Regions from separate parts of the Homo sapiens genome. Here regions 2, 3, 4, 5, 6 and 7 are each linked to region 1. Evidence: promoter capture Hi-C in 16 types of primary human blood cells and fetal thymus (Javierre and others, 2016). All regions are on one chromosome and are shown on one strand. Each heading gives the region's core, a stretch centred on a gene start or on the middle of the fragment in contact. The rest is flanking DNA. Distances are from core to core; before and after follow the strand shown. Region 1 holds the start of RHOC (ras homolog family member C). Region 2 holds the start of TRIM33 (tripartite motif containing 33). Region 3 has its middle 130 kb from the start of SYT6. Region 4 overlaps HIPK1 (homeodomain interacting protein kinase 1). Region 5 holds the start of BCL2L15 (BCL2 like 15). Region 6 overlaps RSBN1 (round spermatid basic protein 1). Region 7 overlaps RSBN1 (round spermatid basic protein 1).

Region 1 (2,670 bases), core at 86-2,585:
GACCCAGGTCCATGTAATATGGATTCAATAAATGTTAGCTATCTTGAAATTGCATTCCTCATTTAGACTCTAAGTTGTTTGAAGGCAGAAATGGATCTTCCGAACATAGCTCTCAGTTCACCCTCGAGAAATGTTCATTGAGTCAGTTAAGAGGCCTGGGGCCAAACTGCTGCGGACCTGTTTTCACATTTGTCAAATGTCTGGATTGCACTTCAGATATTTAAAGTCTGTATGACTCCTAACATTCATTCATTCATCAAATATTTGTTGACAACCTATTATGTGCCACTCACTCTGCTAGACAACGGGGGAAGGGACAGGCTGGAGGAGCCCGTGAGGTAGCAGGGCCAGACCACCAGTTTGGAGCCAGACAGGCCCGGCTGTGTGAATTCTTGCTGTCACAAGTCAAAAACAGTTGTGTAAGCCACTTGATTTCTCTGAACCTCAGCTTCTCTATGGGCAAAAGGGGATGGGTATATTTTCCCCAGAGATCTGTGATGAATATTGAAAGGGTTAAGCTGTGTAGTGTCCCAAGCACAAGCCAATGAAATGTTGGTGGACGTCCTCATTCTACTCCCACCTCCTCAGCTCCCTTACAGGGAAAGGAGATACGCGTGTAGGTAAATATCCTATGCGCCAAGTCAGACCTAGGAGTGGGAACAGAATTCACAGCTGGGATCCAGAAGCATTTCTAGGCGCACCCTTTGAGGAGTAGGTAGGAATTGGACTCCTGGAAATTCCAGGCCCAGGGAAGAAAGCGAATTGTGAGGAGGAACGGTGGTCTGGGTCTGAACGGCTCTGAGAGGTCTTCAAGTTTGGGGGATGACGTTGGGCTGTACGATCCTAGGAACAAGAGGGTGGACATCTCCCCCCAACCAACACACCCGCGCCGGGCCCTGGGACCTCCCGGCGGATACCCTTTCCCAGTCCCGCTTCCCGCGAGGTCCCAGGTGCAGCAGGAGCGGGTGGCCGCTTGGCCACAGGAGGGCAGCAGCGGCCCTTCCTGACCCCACCCCGAGCACCTCTTAACTTTCCCGACGCCGGTCCTCCCCTAGGGGATTGAAGGCTGGGCAGAGTCTGAGTCCACCCGGGTCGTGCTCCCCCCGCTCGCCCGGCTCCTCCGCAGTCCAGGAATCTCCCCGTGGCTCTCCCCGACCTGGAGGGGTGGACGCCCCTGGCCCCCAGTCCCCGGCCTGCGGAGGGGGCCGGTGGCTGCGGCCCTGCGCGGGGCCGGGGCGGGCCGAGCCAAGGGCCGCCCCCGGCCGACCCTCCCCCTGCCGGGCCCGCCCTCCCCGCCGCGGCGCTGGAGGAGGGCGGGGCGGGGCCCTGGGGTCAGTCTGAGCCTCCGGCACCGGCCGCGCAGCTGGAGGCGGCGGAGCGGAAGGTACCCTGGGCCGGGGCTGCGGGCGGTGGGGCGTCTTGGGAACTCGTCCCCAGGAGAGCACTTTCCCTTCCTCGCTGGCCCGGAGATCGGGGCCCGTGCGAGGAGGGGCTTCGGCCTGGGCGTGGACCCCGTTCCCTCCAAGCGGAGTCGGCATCCGGGCTGGGCGGTGGTCGGACCGCGTCGGCCCCTCCCCGGGCTGCAGCGAGGGGGCCCGGACCTGCCGGCAGGGGCTCTGGCCTCCTGAGGTCCGAGTCGGAGCCCCTTCCCTTCTCCTCCCAGCTTCCCGGAACCTGCCCCGCCGGGCGAGGGGCGAGGGAACTTCAACTCAGACGCCCCAGCCCCCAGGGTGGGCGGCCGCAGGGGACCTAGAGTGGGATGGGGTGGGAATTCCTCCAGGCCAGGAGGGAGGTATGGCGGGAATAGGGGCGGGATGTGACCATTGGGGCCTGCCACTGCTCGGCAGGGTCTGGACGCCGCCCTGGACGGTTCCTGGAGCCCGCTTGTGTTGAGGATAAGGGAGATGGGGAAGGATCCAACTCTGTGTGTGTGTGTGTGTGTGTGTGTGTGTGTGTGTGTGTGTGTGTGTGTGTGTGTGTGTGTGTGTGTGTGTGTGGTGTGTGTGTGTGTGTGTGTGTGTGTGTGTGTGTAGAGAGAGAGAGAGAGAGAGAAAATGAGATTGAGAATCCTCCTTCTTCATACTCGAACCAAGAAAGAGTATCCTGGGGTTTGGGACTGGGATCCCGAGGCCGAGTCCCGCCCTCACTCTGGTTTTAAAGTTGAGAATGCAGTATCTCTTGGTATCTCCAGAACGGATTCCTTCCCTAGGTGTAGGGTGGGCCGGCAAAGTCAACCGGCCGCTCTGGATCATCTGGGAATTCAAGAGAGCGATTGGAGAGAGGTCTGATGTAGCCACACTGTCTTGTCTTGGGGAAGGCCCCAGAAGTTCCAGGCTCCATTCCAGGCCCTGTGTGGGGCTCAGTTGCCCCTCTTAAGGGGTCAGTGGGACAGTCCCTCTGGGGCTGCCTCTCACAGGGAGTTGTCCATGCCATCTTGGCCTTGGGCCTAGTGTCCTGGCCTGGGCTGCCTGCTGTTCTGGCCCAATCATAGCCTGGAGGGAAAGTCTTCTAATTGGGCTGGAGGCTCCAGGTCCCTTAACGCATGCCTCAACCCCGGGTTTCTGTCCTCTGCCTCCCACCACTCTGGTGCCGTCTGAATTACCCTGCTGGGGGGACAGCAGTGGCATACTCATGCCTAAGTGACTGGCTTTCACCCCAGTAGTGATTGCC
Region 2 (2,670 bases), core at 117-2,616, 1.8 Mb before region 1:
GACGCCACTGCACTCCAGCCAGGGCGACAGAACGAGGAGGTCTCAAAAAAAAAAAAAGTTTTCACGTGGTTTAAGGACTTACAGCACCTTTCTTGGGAACACTAACAGGAGACCAAAGCATTTCATGATCTTAACACTAAAACAGTTGTTGCACTACATAAAATCCTCCAAATACCTTTTTTTTTTTTTCAAATAAAAAGGCAACTTTCTGAAAGCTTTTCTTTTTTTTTTGAGACGGAGTTTCGCTCTGTCGCCCAGGCTGGAGTGTAGTGGCGCTATCTCGGCTCACTGCAGCCTCCGCCTCCTGCCGGGTTCAAGCCATTCTCCTGCCTCAGCCTCCTGAGTAGCTCGGATTACAGGCGCACGCCATTACACCCGGCTAATTTTTATATTTTTAGTAGAGACGGGGTTTCACCATATTGGCCAGGCTGCCCACGAACTCCTGACCTGACCTCAAGTGATCTGCCCGCCTCGGCCTCCCAAAGTGCTGGGATTACAGGCGTGAGCCACTGCGCTTGGCCTGAAAGCTTCTACTACCATTGTTGTAAGGGCATTTGTCACCCAGCTCAACCCAGGACACTTAAAGTGGGACCTCAGAAGGACGCAGTATTGGTTATATCCGTGGCTCTCCAAACTGACATACATAAGAATCAGCTGAAGGGACTTTTCCCCCTCCGTCGGCTCTCTCCCTCACTTCCTGATTCAGGTCTGGGGACTGGCCCTGGCATCTCTGCTTTGAAAAACTCCTCCGTTGATTCTGATACGTAGCAACTCCTGAGAATCACCTTAAGATGCCAAAAATAGCTGTTAAAGAGTTTCTTCCTCACTCGGTCTTTTCAGCCTATTTCTGATAGATCCTCAGTTCAAAAACAAAAAGCAAAAAAAAAACAAAAAAAAAAACCAAAACCAAACAAACAATAAGCCCCGCTTTAGTGCTCCACGGCCACCCAAAGGAACGCGGCTGGTCTACGCACAGCAGAGACCCAGGAGGTCCCGGCGATCGAGCGGCGCGGCAGGTGAAACTTCCGCGGAGACGCCCGGGACACGCTCGCAGGGACCGGAACCGTCCCGGCTACCACCCTTCCGTATGCACCACCGCTGTGTCGGAGTTCATAACCAACCCCAGCCAAAGGCTACCCAGCGTCAACGGCCTCTGGCTTTAAAAAAAAAATCTCCCTTCGGGTTAAAGAGCCGCGGCACTGACGCAAGGAACTGGCTTCGAGGGTCCGGGACCGCTCCGCGCCCGCGAACCGAGTTCCCGCCTCCCTCGGGAGGACGTCCGTGCGTACGTGCGCGTGCCGCAACCGCCCTCCTTCAAACGCGCGACGCGAGGGCGGGGGCGCCGCGTGCGCGCGCGCTCTCGTTGGTTCGCTCTCTCGCTAGCTCTCGGCTGCCGCTCTTGCTGCGGCTGCGGCTGGGGCTGGGGGCGGCGGCGGCGGCGACGCGGGCGGCGGGCGGCGCGGGGCGGTCCGGCGGGTTCAAAGAGGAAAACATGGCGGAAAACAAAGGCGGCGGCGAGGCTGAGAGCGGCGGCGGGGGCAGCGGCAGCGCGCCGGTAACTGCCGGGGCCGCCGGGCCCGCCGCGCAGGAGGCGGAGCCGCCTCTCACCGCGGTGCTGGTGGAGGAGGAGGAGGAGGAAGGCGGCAGGGCCGGCGCTGAGGGCGGCGCGGCCGGGCCCGACGACGGGGGGGTGGCCGCGGCCTCCTCGGGCTCGGCCCAGGCTGCTTCATCTCCTGCGGCCTCAGTGGGCACTGGAGTTGCCGGGGGCGCAGTATCGACGCCGGCTCCAGCTCCAGCCTCGGCTCCCGCTCCGGGTCCCTCGGCAGGGCCGCCTCCTGGACCGCCAGCCTCGCTCCTGGACACCTGCGCCGTGTGTCAGCAGAGCTTGCAGAGCCGGCGTGAGGCGGAGCCCAAGCTGCTGCCCTGTCTTCACTCCTTCTGCCTGCGCTGCCTGCCCGAGCCGGAGCGCCAGCTCAGCGTGCCCATCCCGGGGGGCAGCAACGGCGACATCCAGCAAGGTGAGCCGGAGGCCCTGCCTGGCATCTGGGCCGCAAGGGATTTGCGCAACCCTAGAGGAGCTGGGGACGGAGGTGCTGGGGCCTGGGGCTGCTCGGACGGGCGCCATCCCGAGGGGTCTCTAAGGTGAAAGACTCGCCCCTGGGACACTTTCCAGAGAAGCTGGACCGCAAGAGATAAGGGGAGCATGAAGGGAGGGGTGCCGGCTGCGAGAGGCTGGGGGAGGGGACACTGGCTCCGAGGGAGGGTTTGTGATGTGCGGAACCCGGCCGAGCGCTGGTTCTGGAGCTGGCAGACCCGTACAGTGAGAGAAGGGGGATTTGGGAAACACGTTGTGAGGAAGCGTTTTGGCTGAAAGGGCCCGGGCCAGCGAGGTGTTGAGGGAGTAGGTAAGAGGTAAGGGCAGTGAAGATGGATTGCTTTGGAGGGAGGGGACTTGGCGTGTTCACAGATAGGAGAGAGGAGGACTATGGATTAAATGGAGGTGGAGAGAATATGTTGGAGAGCAAGGGGTCCAGAGAAGGCGCCTGGAAGAAAATTGTAAGATGACATGGGGAAAGAGAAACTCGGAAAGTGGACTGCATGGTTAGGGAAAATCCTAAGGTTTGGGGATGAAGGAGAAATGAACTTTGAAGGAAATTGAGAGTTAGGGAA
Region 3 (2,670 bases), core at 120-2,619, 1.6 Mb before region 1:
AGCTTATTCGTGCCACTTGAGAGGATGGGCAAATTGGATTATTTAGTCTTAACTAAACAAATCCTCACAAAACAGAGTGGCTTAAGAAGAGCTCTACAAAGAAAGGAGTGTGATGATAACACCCACAATGCAAATGCAAATAAACAACAAGAAAATGGCACTGTCCCTAATTCAAAAGAAGCTCATTGTCAGACATATCATGAGGTTAGAAACCATAACAATCTAATCAGATCAGACAAGATGTTGACAAAAACAAGTTTAGAAGTTATCAAGGGGACAGTGCCTTTACTTCCATTGGCATTTGTGATAAACCTCATCCTAAGTGTATATGAAGCCTTGAGACATTGGCTAATAATAGAAATGCATCAATATAATAAGATAATAATATAGATAAGTAAATACACTATATTGGAGTGTATGTTCAACATTTTTGCTGCTACGGTTATATGATTTTTTAAAAAATTGAAGGCCTCTGTTTTAGGGACCTAGCACTGCTTTAACAAGTCTCGGACCTTTAAGTTAATATTCACTGTCATTTGGGCAGAACTGAGGTAGCAGGTGGGACTAGACTCTGGAGGTGGGGCTCAGACACAGGACCAAATTGAGGACTACCTAAAACAGGTGCAGTGTGGAAGCACTTCTCCATAAGACATGAAAACCAGTATGCCATGTCAGCTTACCATTGCCATGGCAACACCTGAAAGTTATCACCCCTTGCTGTGGTGACAACTCCACAGAGGCTACTACCCTCATCCTAGAAATTTCTGCATAAACTGCCTCTTACTTTGCATATAATTGAAAGTGGGTACGAAAATGATGGCAGAACTGCCTCTGAGCTGCTACTCTGGACACACTGCCTGTGGGGTAGTCCTGCTTCGCTGCTGCTGCTATACACTGCTGCTTCAATAAAAGCTGCTGTTTAACACCACCAGCTCACCTTTGAATTCTTTCCTGGATGGGGCCAAAAACCTTGGGCTAAGCCCCAATTTTGGGGCTTGCCTGTCCTGCATCAGAACCAGGTGGCTAGTGTGTATAGACCTAAGATCAAGGGCTTGTTGCTTATTCACTTACAAGCTGCATTTCTTAAACAACACTATCAGAATGCTGATGTTCTCTGAAAAGCTGTCCTGTGTGCTGTGAGCCTTTGCAAAAATAAATCATATTTTATAACAAATAACCATTTTATACTGTACAATAGTGGAAAATACTGAAATGTAGTTTTATAAAATCTTTTCTTCATGTTGTGAAATTTAACTTATAAAGTTTCCTGTCGCCCATATGTATTATTTTTGTTTGTGTCTTTTCTTAATCTGACAATGATTTTTCTTTTGGTGGAAGAAAATCTGCATAGCTACTCCACATGTAACAGTGTTGCTTGGTGAGTCATGGTCGCAGAAAGTTTAAGAAATGTTCCTTTAGAGCATGTGAATAAATCTTGCCTCAATCAAATTCTTTTTCCTGCAGCCTCCCCTGCTGGGCTCCCTTCCTTGGCCTCTGAGCCTGCTGCTTGCCTTGACCCCAAGTTCAGAGGCTCCCAATGACCTGGCCCTTTGCTGTCTTTGTAAGGCCAAACCTAGGGATGAGCCTCTTCCTCACAGGTTAGGGGCTTTCACCACCACCTCTGGGTCTCAGAAGGTGAGGAGTGAGAACAGACCTCTGAGAATGGGCACCCCTGGGACCTTGTGAACAGGTGCTGCTTAGTTCCTAGAGGAATTCAGAGGGAGAACTGCATGGCTGGCTACCAGCTCCTTGCCTCAAGATGCATCTTTCCAGGGTGGTGGGTAGTTCAGTGGCGAGTCGCTCAAACCGGGCTCTGCTGTTTGGACACGTTACTTAGCTTCATTGTATGTCCGTTTTCTCATTTGTAAAATGAGGATAATAATAATGCCCACTTCTTGGACTTCTTGAAAATGAAATGAGAATCCTATAGTCTAATGCACTTGGCCTGATACATAGTAAGTTGTCAAAAAATGTGAGCTACTGTTATTATCAAGCATTATTTACTTATATTCAGTCCCCAGCTGAATAATGGGAGAGAACTTCATGGCTAATGTAAAATTGGACTTTGACCACACCTACTTAGAGGGTTGGCACTTCTCCCTCCAGAAAATAACGGGACCTCATACAATTTATTCTAAGTAGAACAACTTAAATATAGTTTATAGAAATGGGATTTGGGAGCAGACAGATTTGGACTCGAACACCAGCTCTGTCACATGTTGCCGTGATCTTGGGCAAGTCACTTAGCTGTTGTGGGCCTCATCTGTGCAGTGGGTATTTGCACAGTAATACCGAGTTGTGAGAACATGATGTAAGCACAGGATTCAGGAGAGTGCCTGGCACTTAGTGGGATCTCAATATCTTGTCCCTCTCCCCTTTTCTTAATAGCCATAATAGACATTGATAGAAGAATTAACATTTGCTTAATGCCTACTGTGTGCCATGCACTAGTTAGGATTTTATAATCTTACATAATCTCCTGTATTCATTAAAATGATGTAAAGTATATATCAATAACACAATTTTGTGGATGAAAGAACTAAGTTCAGAAAATTTAAGACCTTTTTCAAAGTCAATAACTTGACTGCAAAAGTCCATGCTATTCCTCCTTCCCACTGGCTGCACCATCTCAGATCTCTGGACCAGCAAACACTATACACTATTCTCCTC
Region 4 (2,670 bases), core at 118-2,617, 1.3 Mb before region 1:
TAGTGATGGCTGGCAACTGAAGGGCAATAAGGATAATACCTCAAAATACAGAAGCTATGAATTCCCCTGCCTGGGTTCAAATCATGGTTCTGCAATAATTAGTTATAGGACTTTGGGCATATGAAGGAACCATGCTCAAAATTCTCATCTATAAATTGGGGATAATGACATTACCCTACCTCCTAGAATTGTTAGTGAAGATAAATTAATACATGTAAAAGCACTTGGAACATTATCTGGCATATAGTAATACATATCAGGCATCATCATCATCACCTTAATTTTAAAACTCCTTTTTCATTTGGAAAATTTTAAGTATGCTCTAATAACTCCTCAGGTTATTTATACTTCCTAGATAGGAAAAATTTCAAAGCTTACCTAATTATACTAAAAAGGGTTATCCCACTTTTCCCCTCTAACTTCATTAGTTTACATTTTGTTTTGTTAAAGGAACTCAAAAGTTCTTCTGCTTCATCTTGTATCATCTGAGAAGCAGCAGAAAACTTCAGGGTCCCACATCTGAAAACTGTTCCAATGAAACTCTTCGGAAAAAGTGGTGAAAAAAGTGGCTAATCTGCTAAGCTCTGTGGAAGAATCACTCAACATACGACAATCCCAACTACAGAATTTACTATTATGAAGCATATGCAGAAAATAATTTGGTAAGTTAGGCTAAACGTGCATTTACGGATTTTGAATCTGTCCCTCTGCTCTCCCTGTGGTTTCTCCCTGGTTTATATCGCTATTGCTCTCCTGTCCTCCTGGTAATCTCTCTGACCCCCCTAGCCCCTCTTTTCCTTCTGCTTGCTCCGACTCTATCAGAAACCAAACAAACAAGAGAGTCACGGTCAATAAGTAATTGATGTAAAAAGGCAAAAATGCTACCTGCTTCTATGTAAAGTGTTATATGAAATACCTGAATCCTGGTTTATTCTCACAGGGTACTGACACTGACCTTCTCTTGGGAAAGTCAAATGTGTCATTAGATTTTAGCCTTAAAGTAACATTCTTCTAAATGGCTTACCAAATGATTAAACACACATTTCCCATATACAGAAAAAAGAAACTGGACAGACTAGATTACAGAACAACAATGTGAAAATTAAGAAGGATGGGAATGTGAAAATTAAAATCTTATTGCAACACAGGGACTCCGCCTCCTCCTTCAGCTATTCTGTTCCTCTGTTGACAGGAGTTTGCAGGAACTATATGATTCATAAGCTGAAGAAGATAATCTTAATGCCTGCCCCACACAAGCACCTCAGCCTGTAGGATTTTTTAGTTCAATAAATAATGATTTTTCTTTCCTTAAGTAATTTAAGATGTTTCCACATTCTTAAACATGATTTTTACATTTTAGAATAAAATCACTTTTTATTGGGAACATAATTTTTATAATAGAATGATATAGGCAATAAGATCCAATATTTAGCAATTCTGCTTACAACAAATTTTTTCAAGTTGTATAGATTTTGCATATTGACAGATACATGCTTATACAAGACGTACGACATTGACACAAGGACTCAATGGGCAAGAAAACTGGTATCAGGCAATTCAATTAAGGAAACATAAAGTGAGCTCTTACAATGCATCAGATAGCATCATAATTAGATAAATAGCCTATGTAAAAAGAGAAAATCCATTTTGTGATATTACCCAATTTTAGTTACCTTCTTCATCAGAGACAGAGTTTAAACTTGTAAAGATCAGAACTAAACAACTAGAGCTGCCTAAAGCAGGTAGGTCTGATACAATACCATATGATACAGGAGTTTCCCCACTTACTTTGAAACGCAGGTGGACATACTATAAATGTCTGTTGGAATGGATCTGTCTGAGTGCAAATCTGGGTGGTTCCAGGCTGCAAGGAAACACCCTGCTGGGCAACTCCAGGAACTGGTGCAGCAGATGATGGGTACAAAGCTGACTGGTAGTTTAGTAGTGAGACATCTGAATTAGCCAGAGAAAGAGTAGCAGCTGCTGCAGTAGAACTGGAAGCTAGAACACTGGCCTAAAAACAAAAGGATTATATTTGTACACTTGTATTAAGTAGAGACACACAATAATTTTATATATACAGAATTTATCCAGAAAAACGTAGAATAATGTTTTAAAATGTAATGTTAACTGCCTCTGAAATAACTCTCTGCTTAAGAAACTTCCCTAGTCCCTAAATTGAAGGCATATTATATGGTCAAATAAGCAAATAAAAAAAAAAAAACGAATGGTCCTATGTTGGCTGTGGCTACACAAACCCCAACTACTTCTGCACAAAAAATTACTGGATGGAAGATCCCACCAAATCTCATAGGCTCTTCCATTAAAAAAGTAGACCCAGCCAAGAAACTGGGAAGCTTACATCTTCAGAAATAAACCTAAATGCAAATATCACTGGCTAGCAAACAAATGCAAAACCACCCTTAAAGTTAATGACTGGAAACCTTTCAATACAGTAACAAGAGATATAAAATCCTTCTCCTAACAGGGAGAAAGTCATTTGGCTAAAGTCAGTAAAACTAACAGCAGTAAGTAGCATAATAGTCAGACCCCATTTATTTGACGATGCTGAACATATGAGGGCATGGATTAGGCCTTTATATTTAACTTTAGTTAGCCTGTGCCTGGTAAGTATTATCAGTCTACCCTGTTTTCCATCAACTTTTGTCA
Region 5 (2,670 bases), core at 51-2,550, 1.2 Mb before region 1:
TTGCTCTGTCACCCAGGCTGGAGTGCAGTGGCGTAATATCGACTCATCGCAACCTCCGCCTCCCAGGTTCAAGCGATTCTCATGCCTCAGCCTCCTTAGTAGCTGGGATTACAGGCATGCACCACCACGCCCAGTTCATTTTTGTATTTTTTAGTAGAGATGGGTTTTGCCATGTTGGCCAGGCTGGTCGTGAACTCCTGACCTCCGGTTATCTGCCCGCCTCAGCCTCCCAAAAGTGCTGGGATTACAGGTATGAGCCACCATGCCCGGCCTATGCTTGACTCTTTTATTAGTTGGAGCTGTTAATATTAATAACTTCACCAGGTCAGACAGGTTGAGTGGTAAGTTTGCTGATAGGTTTGATGGCTGCTTCTGAGACCCAGACCCAAAATCTAGGTTTAGCTACGTTAAGAAGGCAACCACTACAGATAAGTGTCCAATCATGAGATCTCTTAAAACAATGATGGAGTCCAACCCTGTTAGGAAAATCCTTTTGCTAGACAGAGAATCTCAGATCTCTTTCCTCCTGGTCATTATGTCTTGGGCTAAAAGGAGGACATTTAACATTTATTGTATGCCAAACAGTGCTAGGCCATTCCGCATGTTATCTTATTTAATCCTCATAATTTATCTATGAAATATTTTCTGTTGTCCCCATTTATAATTCCAAGTTGTTTTTTTTTAACCTTCCCAGACTTTATATCTGCTACCTCTCCGCCTAGAATAGTGTTATGCCTCCTTTTTGCATAATGAATGCCTACTTATTCCTCAGAGCTCATGTCAGATGGTACTATTTTAAGGAAGCCTTCCCAGTCCCCTAGGTTTGTTTCCCTATTAAACTGATCAAAGGCTTGATTCCCTGTTACACTTCACTGATCAAAGTGCACTGATCTCAATAGCACAAATAACAATGCGATTACTCATTTAATATCTGTCATTTCTGCTGAAGTGTAAGCTTCATGAGCACAGTAACTGTGCCTGTATCATTTTTCTATGTTACTTGTAGTGCCAACTATAGTTCCTTGTTCAGTAAGTAATTATTATATGATTATGGCAAATAAATTCCATAAACAGAAGTTGAACGCTGGTCCACTGTAACTTCAAAACCTTCCTTCAAATTATACCATGTGCAGGACCTAAGAAGTCGAGGAAGTATTTCTTAATAAAATTACTCCAGAGGCTCTTCCTGAACTCTATTTCAGTTCTAGGTTGGCTACCTAACGATAAAAGTTAAGCATTAATTTTATGTGGTTAGGGTGTGGTCTGAGATAGAGAACCTAAAGTCTTTAAAGTCTCCCCAGTTCCAAGTAGGTAATCCTTCTGAGAAGTCCCACCTTTCTGAGCAGCTGTGTTTGAAGAAAGCTAGTGGGAAAAGTTCCAGGATTACATGTCAGGAAACTACAAGAGGTAGAAACATTTGTTGATTTACCAGTGTTTTTAACTTCCTGCTGGGCTGAAAACTGCTTGTTTCGTGGAAAAGCAAAACTTGACAGCAAACATCTAAAATGAAGAGCTCCCAAACTTTTGAGGAACAAACGGAATGCATTGTGAACACTCTACTCATGGACTTCTTGAGCCCAACATTGCAGGTTGCCAGCCGGAACCTATGCTGTGTAGATGAAGTAGATTCAGGTAAGGTTCCTGCCCTAGGCGGTGATTGCAGGTCAATAAGAGTATGTTTTCAGCCGGGCGCAGTGACTGATTCCCGTAATCCCAGCACTTTGGGAGGCCAAGGTGGGTGGATCACCTGAAGTCAGGGGTTTGAGATCCGCCTGGCCAACGTGGTGAAACCCCATCTCTACTAAAAGTAGAAAAATTAGCCAGGTGTGGTGGCTCATGCCTGCAGTCCCAGCTACATGGGAGACTGAGGCATGAGAATTGCTTGAACCTGGGAGGCGGAGGTTGCAGTGAGCTGAGATCACGCCACTGCACTCCAGTCTGGGCGACAGAGACTCGGTCTCAAAAAAAAAAAAACAGTATATTTTATTTATTTCCTTTAAGTTTCAAAAGGCAAACTCTAAGCTTTCAGTAACACCTAAAGCGAAAGAGGTTCTCAATGAAGGGAAACTTTCTGACTATTGGTGTTGACAGAACATTTAAGCTCTTGGGAGATCATGATATGAAAATTATTTAAAAGACAAGACAAATTTTTCTCATTGCCCAGATTCCTGGGACTTGCCATTGCTTCAAGCATTGTAACAAATGTGTTCCCTCTGTCATAGGAGAGCCTTGTTCTTTTGATGTGGCTATCATTGCTGGTCGCCTTCGGATGTTGGGTGACCAGTTCAACGGAGAATTGGAAGCTTCTGCCAAAAACGTCATTGCAGAAACCATTAAGGGACAGGTCAAGTTTCTACTTCATGCTATTGTTTGCTGCTTTTTTTTCTATTTCAAACTTCCTTTTCTTACTACTCCCATACTACAGTGACTAGGAATGTTCTATGAAAATATTTGGGTGCTTATATTTCAAGGAAGTATAGCAAGAATTCTCCAATTGCTAAAACCTAAGTGGTACAGAGATGGAAAATTTTGGGCATAGGCTGATGAACCTTCAGTTTGTCTCTACTTGGTCTTCATCACAGCTGTTGTGCTTAGTGTGCACAGAGCACATTTATAACACTTTATTCTTGGCAAAGTATAGTATCTTTTTTTTTTTTTTTTTTTTCAGAC
Region 6 (2,670 bases), core at 119-2,618, 1.1 Mb before region 1:
ATCTTTATTGTTACAGTGGTATGCAGGAGGCATGCCTCTGGTATTAATCTGAGTTTAAATCATGGCTCTAACACTTACTGTGTGAGCCTGAACAAATTGCTTTACCCTCTCTCAACTGCACTTTTCCTGTCTATAAAATGGGGTTGTGGTATTTCATTTATAAGGAACTTGTGTGGATTAAATAGGGCATTGTGTGAAAGTACTTACAGCAGTGCCTGGCTCATTGTAGGCACTTACTTAAAACCGGCCTTTATTATTTTATTATGCATGGTCCCTAAAACAACTCTAAGATTAATAAGGAGAGTGGGCAGATTCTTGTTACTTACAAAGCTATGTCCTTCCTTCGCTTATCCTCAGATTTTTGGAAACTATTTTAACTGTTTTTTTTTTTTAGATAATTAATGATTCACAGGAAATTGCAAACATAGTCAAGTCCTTACCTTTTACCAGTTTCCCTCAGTGGCTACATCTTACATAACTATTGTATAATATCAACACCAGGAAATTGACATTGGTACAATGTATATGTAGTTATATGCTATTTTATCATATGTAGATTAGTGTAACCACCACTACAATCAAGATACAGAACTGTTCCACCACCACAAACCCTTTACAGCCTTAGGCACTCCCTCTGTCTCTCTACTGTCCCTGTCCTCTGGCAGCCACTAACCTGTTTTGTCATTTTGAGACTATTATATAAGTTGAATCATACAGTATGTGATCTTTGGAGATTGCCCTTTTTCACTCAGTGTGATGTCCCTGAGATCCATCCCTCTTTTTCATTGCCGAATAGTGTTCCATGGTATGGATGTACCATGGTTCACCTATTGAATCATTCCCGTATAAGAAAGGACATTTTGATTATTTCTAGTTTTTGGCTATTATAGATAGAGCTTCTATGAAAATTGGTGTTCAGGTTTTTGTGTGCATGTAACTTTTCATTTCTTTGGTCGTATGGTAAATACAATTAGCCCTCTGTATCCATGGGTTCCACATCAATGGATTCAGCCAACCTGGGATTGAAAATATTTTCAAAAAAACATTGTCTGTACTGGACTTGTGCAGACTTTTTTTTTCTTGTCACTGTTCCCTAAACAATACAGTATAACAATTATTTATATAGCATGTACATTGTATTAGGTATAAATAATCTGGAGATGATTTAAAATATAGGGGAGGATGTGCATAGGTTATAAGCAATTATTATGCCATTTTATATGAAGGACTTGATCATCTTGGATTTTGTTGCCCTGGGAGGCTCTGGAACCAATCCTCCATGGATACCAAGGATGACTATATATATTTATTTTGTTTGTTTGTTTTTTAAGATACTGCCAAAGTATTTTCTGGAGTGTCGGTACCATTTTACATTCCTGTCAGCGGTGTAAGAGAAATCCATTTTCTCCACATTCTTGCCAGTATCTGGTATTGTCACTATTTTTATTTTAGCAATTTTAATAGACGTGTGGTGATACATCATCATGATCTTAATTTGCATTTCCCAAATGGCTAGTGATAATACACATCTTTTCATATCATCATTTGCTGTCTATATATCCTGGTCAGTAAAATGTCTCTTTATACCTTTTGCCTATTTTCTAATTGAATTTTGTGTGTGTGTGTGTGTGTGTGTGTGTATACATATACATATATATATATATATAATTTTTTTTTTTGAGACAGAATTTCACTCTTGTTGCCCAGGCTGGAGAGCAATGGTGCAATCTCGGCTCACTGCAACCTCTGCCTCCCGGGTTCAAGCGATTCTCCTGCCTCAGCCTCCCGAATCGCTGGGATTACAGGTGCCTGCCACCACACCCAGCTACTTTTTTATATTTTTAGTAGAGACGGGGTTTCACTGTGTTGGCCAGGCTGTTCTCGAACTCCTGACCTCAGGTGATCCACCCGCCTCAGCCTCCCAAAGTGCTGGGATTTCAGGCGTGAGCCACTGCGCCCGGCCCTTGAATTGTATATTTTTTATTACTGGGTTTTGATAATTTTTTGTAGATCACAGGTGCAGCTTCTTTGTATGGTTTGCACATATTTTCTCCCAATCTGTTGCTTGTCTTTCCATCCTTTTTGTTTGTTTGCTTGTTTTTATTTTGGTTGTTTTTTTTTTTTTTTGAGATGGATTCTCACTTTGTCACCCAGGCTGGAGTGTAGTAGCACGATCCTGGCTCACTGCAACCTCCACCTCTTGGGTTCAGGCGATTCTCCTATGTCAGCCTCCCGAGTAGCTGTGATTACAGGCATCTGCCACCATGCCCGGCTAATTTTTGTGTTTTTCAGTAGAGACGGGGTTTCGCCATATTGGTCAGGCTGGTCTTGAACTCCTGACCTCAGGTGATCCGCCCGCCTTGGTCTCCCAAAGTGCTGGGATTACAGGCATGAGCCACCACGCCCAGCCTGTTTGTTTTTGTTTTTTTGGGGAGGGTCTCACTCAGTTACCCAGGCTGCAGCACAGTGATGTGATCATGGCTCACTCTAGCCTCAACCTCTGGGGCTCAAGTGATCCTCCCACCTCAACCTCCTGAGTAGCTGAGACCACACGTGTGCACCACCACACCTGGCTAATGTTTTTTTTTTTTTTTTTTTTTTTGATAGAGGCAGGGTCTCTCTGTGTTGTCCAGGCTGGTCTCAAACTCCTGGGCTTAAGTGATCCTCCCG
Region 7 (2,670 bases), core at 122-2,621, 1.1 Mb before region 1:
TGGAAAAATTGTCTTCCACAAAACCAGTCCCTCATGCCAAAAAGATTGGGGACCACTGGACTACAGTATTCAGTACAATAACATGCTGTAAGTTTTGTAGCCTAGGAGCAATAGGCTATGTCATATAGCCTAGGTGTGTAGTAGGCTATACCACTTAGATTTGTGTAAGTACAAGCTGTGATGTTCTCAACCACAAATTGCCTAATGACATTTCTCAGAATGTATTTCTGTCATTAGGTGACACATGACTGTACAATAAACTTGTGGTAAATGAATGACACCTGCTTTCCTGTAACTCATGTTACAGGCCTCCAAGTATTTGAAGACTGTTGTGTCCCTCCTTTAATCTTTTCAAGTTAAATACTTTTGAAATACTTTTGATTTCTTGCATTCTTCCTCCATTTTGTATGGTTTGCAAGTCCCTAATCACTTTAAATGTTCTATTTTGGGTGTGCCCTAGTTATAGATATTTTTTAGGCCAGATCGGGAGATCACACCCCAGATGATATCTCTGTGCAATGCAGAATATTGCCTCCCTCATTACAAAGTATACAAGGTATAGGCTAAAAAACCATAACAATGAGGACCAATGTGCAGTGGCTAGAACAAAAGTTTGTCTCTTGTTTAGCAGTCCCGAGGTAAGCAACTCTGTTCCTTGTTGTCATCCAGGATGCTAGTTTCCTTCTGTCTTTAATTTTTGTCGTTCCTACTGGTGTTGTCATGTGCATGATTGAGACTAGCTCTTTACCACTCTGTGTTGCAGCCCTCAAAAGAGAAAAAGGAAGTGGAGGGCAAGCCACTTCCTTATAAAGGTATGCCCTGAAGATTGCATATGTAACTTATGTGACTGTCTCATTGGCCCAAACTTAGGCACAGGCCGCATTTAGCTGTCAGGGAGCCTAGCTTATTGGCCATATGCCCAGGAAATTTTCTTACTAAAAAGAAGGAATACTTTGCTTGTTTGGCATTAGTTTCCTACAGTTGGTGAATGTTTTTTTGTTTTATCTATTTTTTTCTCTCTTTTTTTTTTTCTTGTCAGCCTTTTCAGGTTGAAAGTTGGTGCATGTTGAATTTGTGGTCATAACTGCTGTTCATTGTTATGCTGTTAATTATTTAAATGTATCACAAACATTTGCATTTATTAAATTTTTAAATGCAAGTGATAGACTGGTAATCAGCAGTTCTTCTTCTCCCCCTCCACCCCTTTTTTTTCTTTTTGCCAGAGTTTGTGGTTGATTACTTCATTTCTAGCCTTAACATACAGAAATTCAACAAATATTTATGACTACATACCAGGCACTTTGTATTACAGATATATAATATTGAATAATACAGATTGTTCTCTTTCACAAAGTTTGTATTCAAACATATTGCTTGATTTCTTTTGTGAGTGGTTTAAATTGGGGGTTGGCAAACTTTTTCTATTAAGGACCAGATAGTATTTTCTGCCCTGTGGCCTAAAATTTATGTAAATAATTCAAACAACCCAATAACAACAACAACGAAATAATCTGATTTAAAAGTGGGCAAAAGACCTAAATAGACATTCTGAAATTTGAAGACATACAACAGGTATATGAAAAAATGTTCAACATAATTCATCATCAGGGAAATGGAAGTCAGAACTACAATTAGATATCACCTCACCCCAGTTCTGGCTGTTAACAAAAAGACAAAAAATAAATGCTGGTGAGGATATGGAAAAAGGAGAACTTTTATACAGTTAATGTCAATCTAAATTAGTACAGACATTATGGTCAACAGTGTGGATGTTCCTTAAAAAATTAAAAATAGAACGACCACATGACCAAGCAATTCCACTTCTTGGTATATGTCCAACTCAAGGAAATTTAATCAGTATGTTGAAGATCTGCATTTCCATGTTTATTGCAGCACTATTCATAACAGCCAGTTTGTTTTTCTTAAAAAATAGTTGTCCTTGACCATTTTTGAAACGTTATTCTTACATCATTTTAATTGCATTACTTCTTAACTCATCCTTTCACAATTTCTTTAGCTAACTCTTCCTCCTGTCTGTCAAATATCTGTTTTCCTTTAAGTGCAGTTCTTGGTTCTGTCTCTTTCTATTCTTTCTCTCAAGTCTTAGTCACTTAAAAAATTATATGTTATAGACAATTTCCAAATCTATGCATCTATTCCTTACCTTTTTTGATCTAGTTATAACTCCAAATCTAACTTACCTAAAATCTGTAAATGTTATGTACTTTCGTTCTTTGAGCTTGAAACCTTATTTTGAGTCATTTTATACCATCAAGGAAATATAGGAGTTGTAAAGGTGGACAATAACATGTGAAAACTTGTGGAGGCAGCAGAAATTATTTAGAATTTGCGAAATGTATATTTAGAATGTGGCAAATGTGGAGAATGTGGCAAATCTTGGTCTGTTATTCCCTTGGAATAATAGATCAGGAGGGGCTTTGTCTTCCTTAAAAAGGATTTTCTAGTTTGATGCTACAGGTAATATGGAGCTACTAAAGGATTTAAAATGGGAAGGTTGAATGATAAGATGTTTTTTCCTAGATTATTTGTAGCAGTATGTAGGATGGCTCTTGGGGATAGGAATCCTGAAGCAAGGATACTGGTTAAGAGGTTTTACAATTAGGTGAGAAATGATAATTTCCTGAATTAAGGCAGTGGTACTGCAGATTT

Evidence for each region. Contacts are between HindIII fragments. The CHiCAGO score rates a contact against its expected background, and 5 or more counts as called.
Region 2: a contact is called between the fragment with the promoter of TRIM33 here and the fragment with the promoter of RHOC in region 1, in 5 of 17 cell types (total CD4 T cells, fetal thymus, non-activated CD4 T cells and 2 more). The highest score is 6.8, in total CD4 T cells.
Region 3: a contact is called between a fragment that was not itself captured here and the fragment with the promoter of RHOC in region 1, in 1 of 17 cell types (neutrophils). The highest score is 5.2, in neutrophils.
Region 4: a contact is called between a fragment that was not itself captured here and the fragment with the promoter of RHOC in region 1, in 1 of 17 cell types (naive CD4 T cells). The highest score is 6.8, in naive CD4 T cells.
Region 5: a contact is called between the fragment with the promoter of BCL2L15 here and the fragment with the promoter of RHOC in region 1, in 1 of 17 cell types (activated CD4 T cells). The highest score is 5.1, in activated CD4 T cells.
Region 6: a contact is called between a fragment that was not itself captured here and the fragment with the promoter of RHOC in region 1, in 2 of 17 cell types (total B cells and total CD8 T cells). The highest score is 8.7, in total B cells.
Region 7: a fragment that was not itself captured here is called in contact with the fragment with the promoter of RHOC in region 1 in 6 of 17 cell types (total CD8 T cells, naive CD8 T cells, total CD4 T cells and 3 more); the score reaches 7.4 in total CD8 T cells.

Annotation. Positions count from the first base shown.
Region 1 is chr1:112,705,792-112,708,461 of GRCh38, reverse strand. It overlaps RHOC (ras homolog family member C), which reads left to right and starts at 1,335. Exons shown (of 6, transcript NM_175744.5): 1 at 1,335-1,384. RefSeq lists a silencer at 896-1,615. The HindIII fragment of the contact is 12,151 bases long and covers 1-2,670 here.
Region 2 is chr1:114,509,899-114,512,568 of GRCh38, reverse strand. It overlaps TRIM33 (tripartite motif containing 33), which reads left to right and starts at 1,366. Exons shown (of 20, transcript NM_015906.4): 1 at 1,366-2,018. The coding sequence starts at 1,493. LOC124904348 (a long non-coding RNA gene) reads right to left here and starts at 1,231. Exons shown (of 2, transcript XR_007066452.1): 1 at 644-1,231. RefSeq lists enhancers at 1-169, 1,030-1,199 and silencers at 1,390-1,499, 1,530-1,829. The HindIII fragment of the contact is 2,747 bases long and covers 530-2,670 here.
Region 3 is chr1:114,285,182-114,287,851 of GRCh38, reverse strand. No RefSeq gene overlaps it. Among named protein-coding and RNA genes, the nearest start is that of SYT6, 130 kb to the right of the region's middle. The HindIII fragment of the contact is 3,020 bases long and covers 1-2,670 here.
Region 4 is chr1:113,957,410-113,960,079 of GRCh38, reverse strand. It overlaps HIPK1 (homeodomain interacting protein kinase 1), which reads right to left. Exons shown (of 16, transcript NM_198268.3): 8 at 1,789-2,014. Among named protein-coding and RNA genes, the nearest start is that of OLFML3, 21 kb to the left of the region's middle. The HindIII fragment of the contact is 1,984 bases long and covers 376-2,359 here.
Region 5 is chr1:113,886,211-113,888,880 of GRCh38, reverse strand. It overlaps BCL2L15 (BCL2 like 15), which reads left to right and starts at 1,300. Exons shown (of 4, transcript NM_001010922.3): 1 at 1,300-1,632; 2 at 2,223-2,344. The coding sequence starts at 1,506. The region is part of intron 3 of AP4B1-AS1 (AP4B1 antisense RNA 1); the gene reads right to left. The HindIII fragment of the contact is 1,067 bases long and covers 958-2,024 here.
Region 6 is chr1:113,806,771-113,809,440 of GRCh38, reverse strand. All of the region lies in intron 1 of RSBN1 (round spermatid basic protein 1), which reads left to right. Among named protein-coding and RNA genes, the nearest start is that of RSBN1, 4.4 kb to the left of the region's middle. The HindIII fragment of the contact is 4,202 bases long and covers 1-2,670 here.
Region 7 is chr1:113,781,819-113,784,488 of GRCh38, reverse strand. The region is part of intron 2 of RSBN1 (round spermatid basic protein 1); the gene reads left to right. Among named protein-coding and RNA genes, the nearest start is that of PHTF1, 24 kb to the right of the region's middle. The HindIII fragment of the contact is 4,937 bases long and covers 1-2,670 here.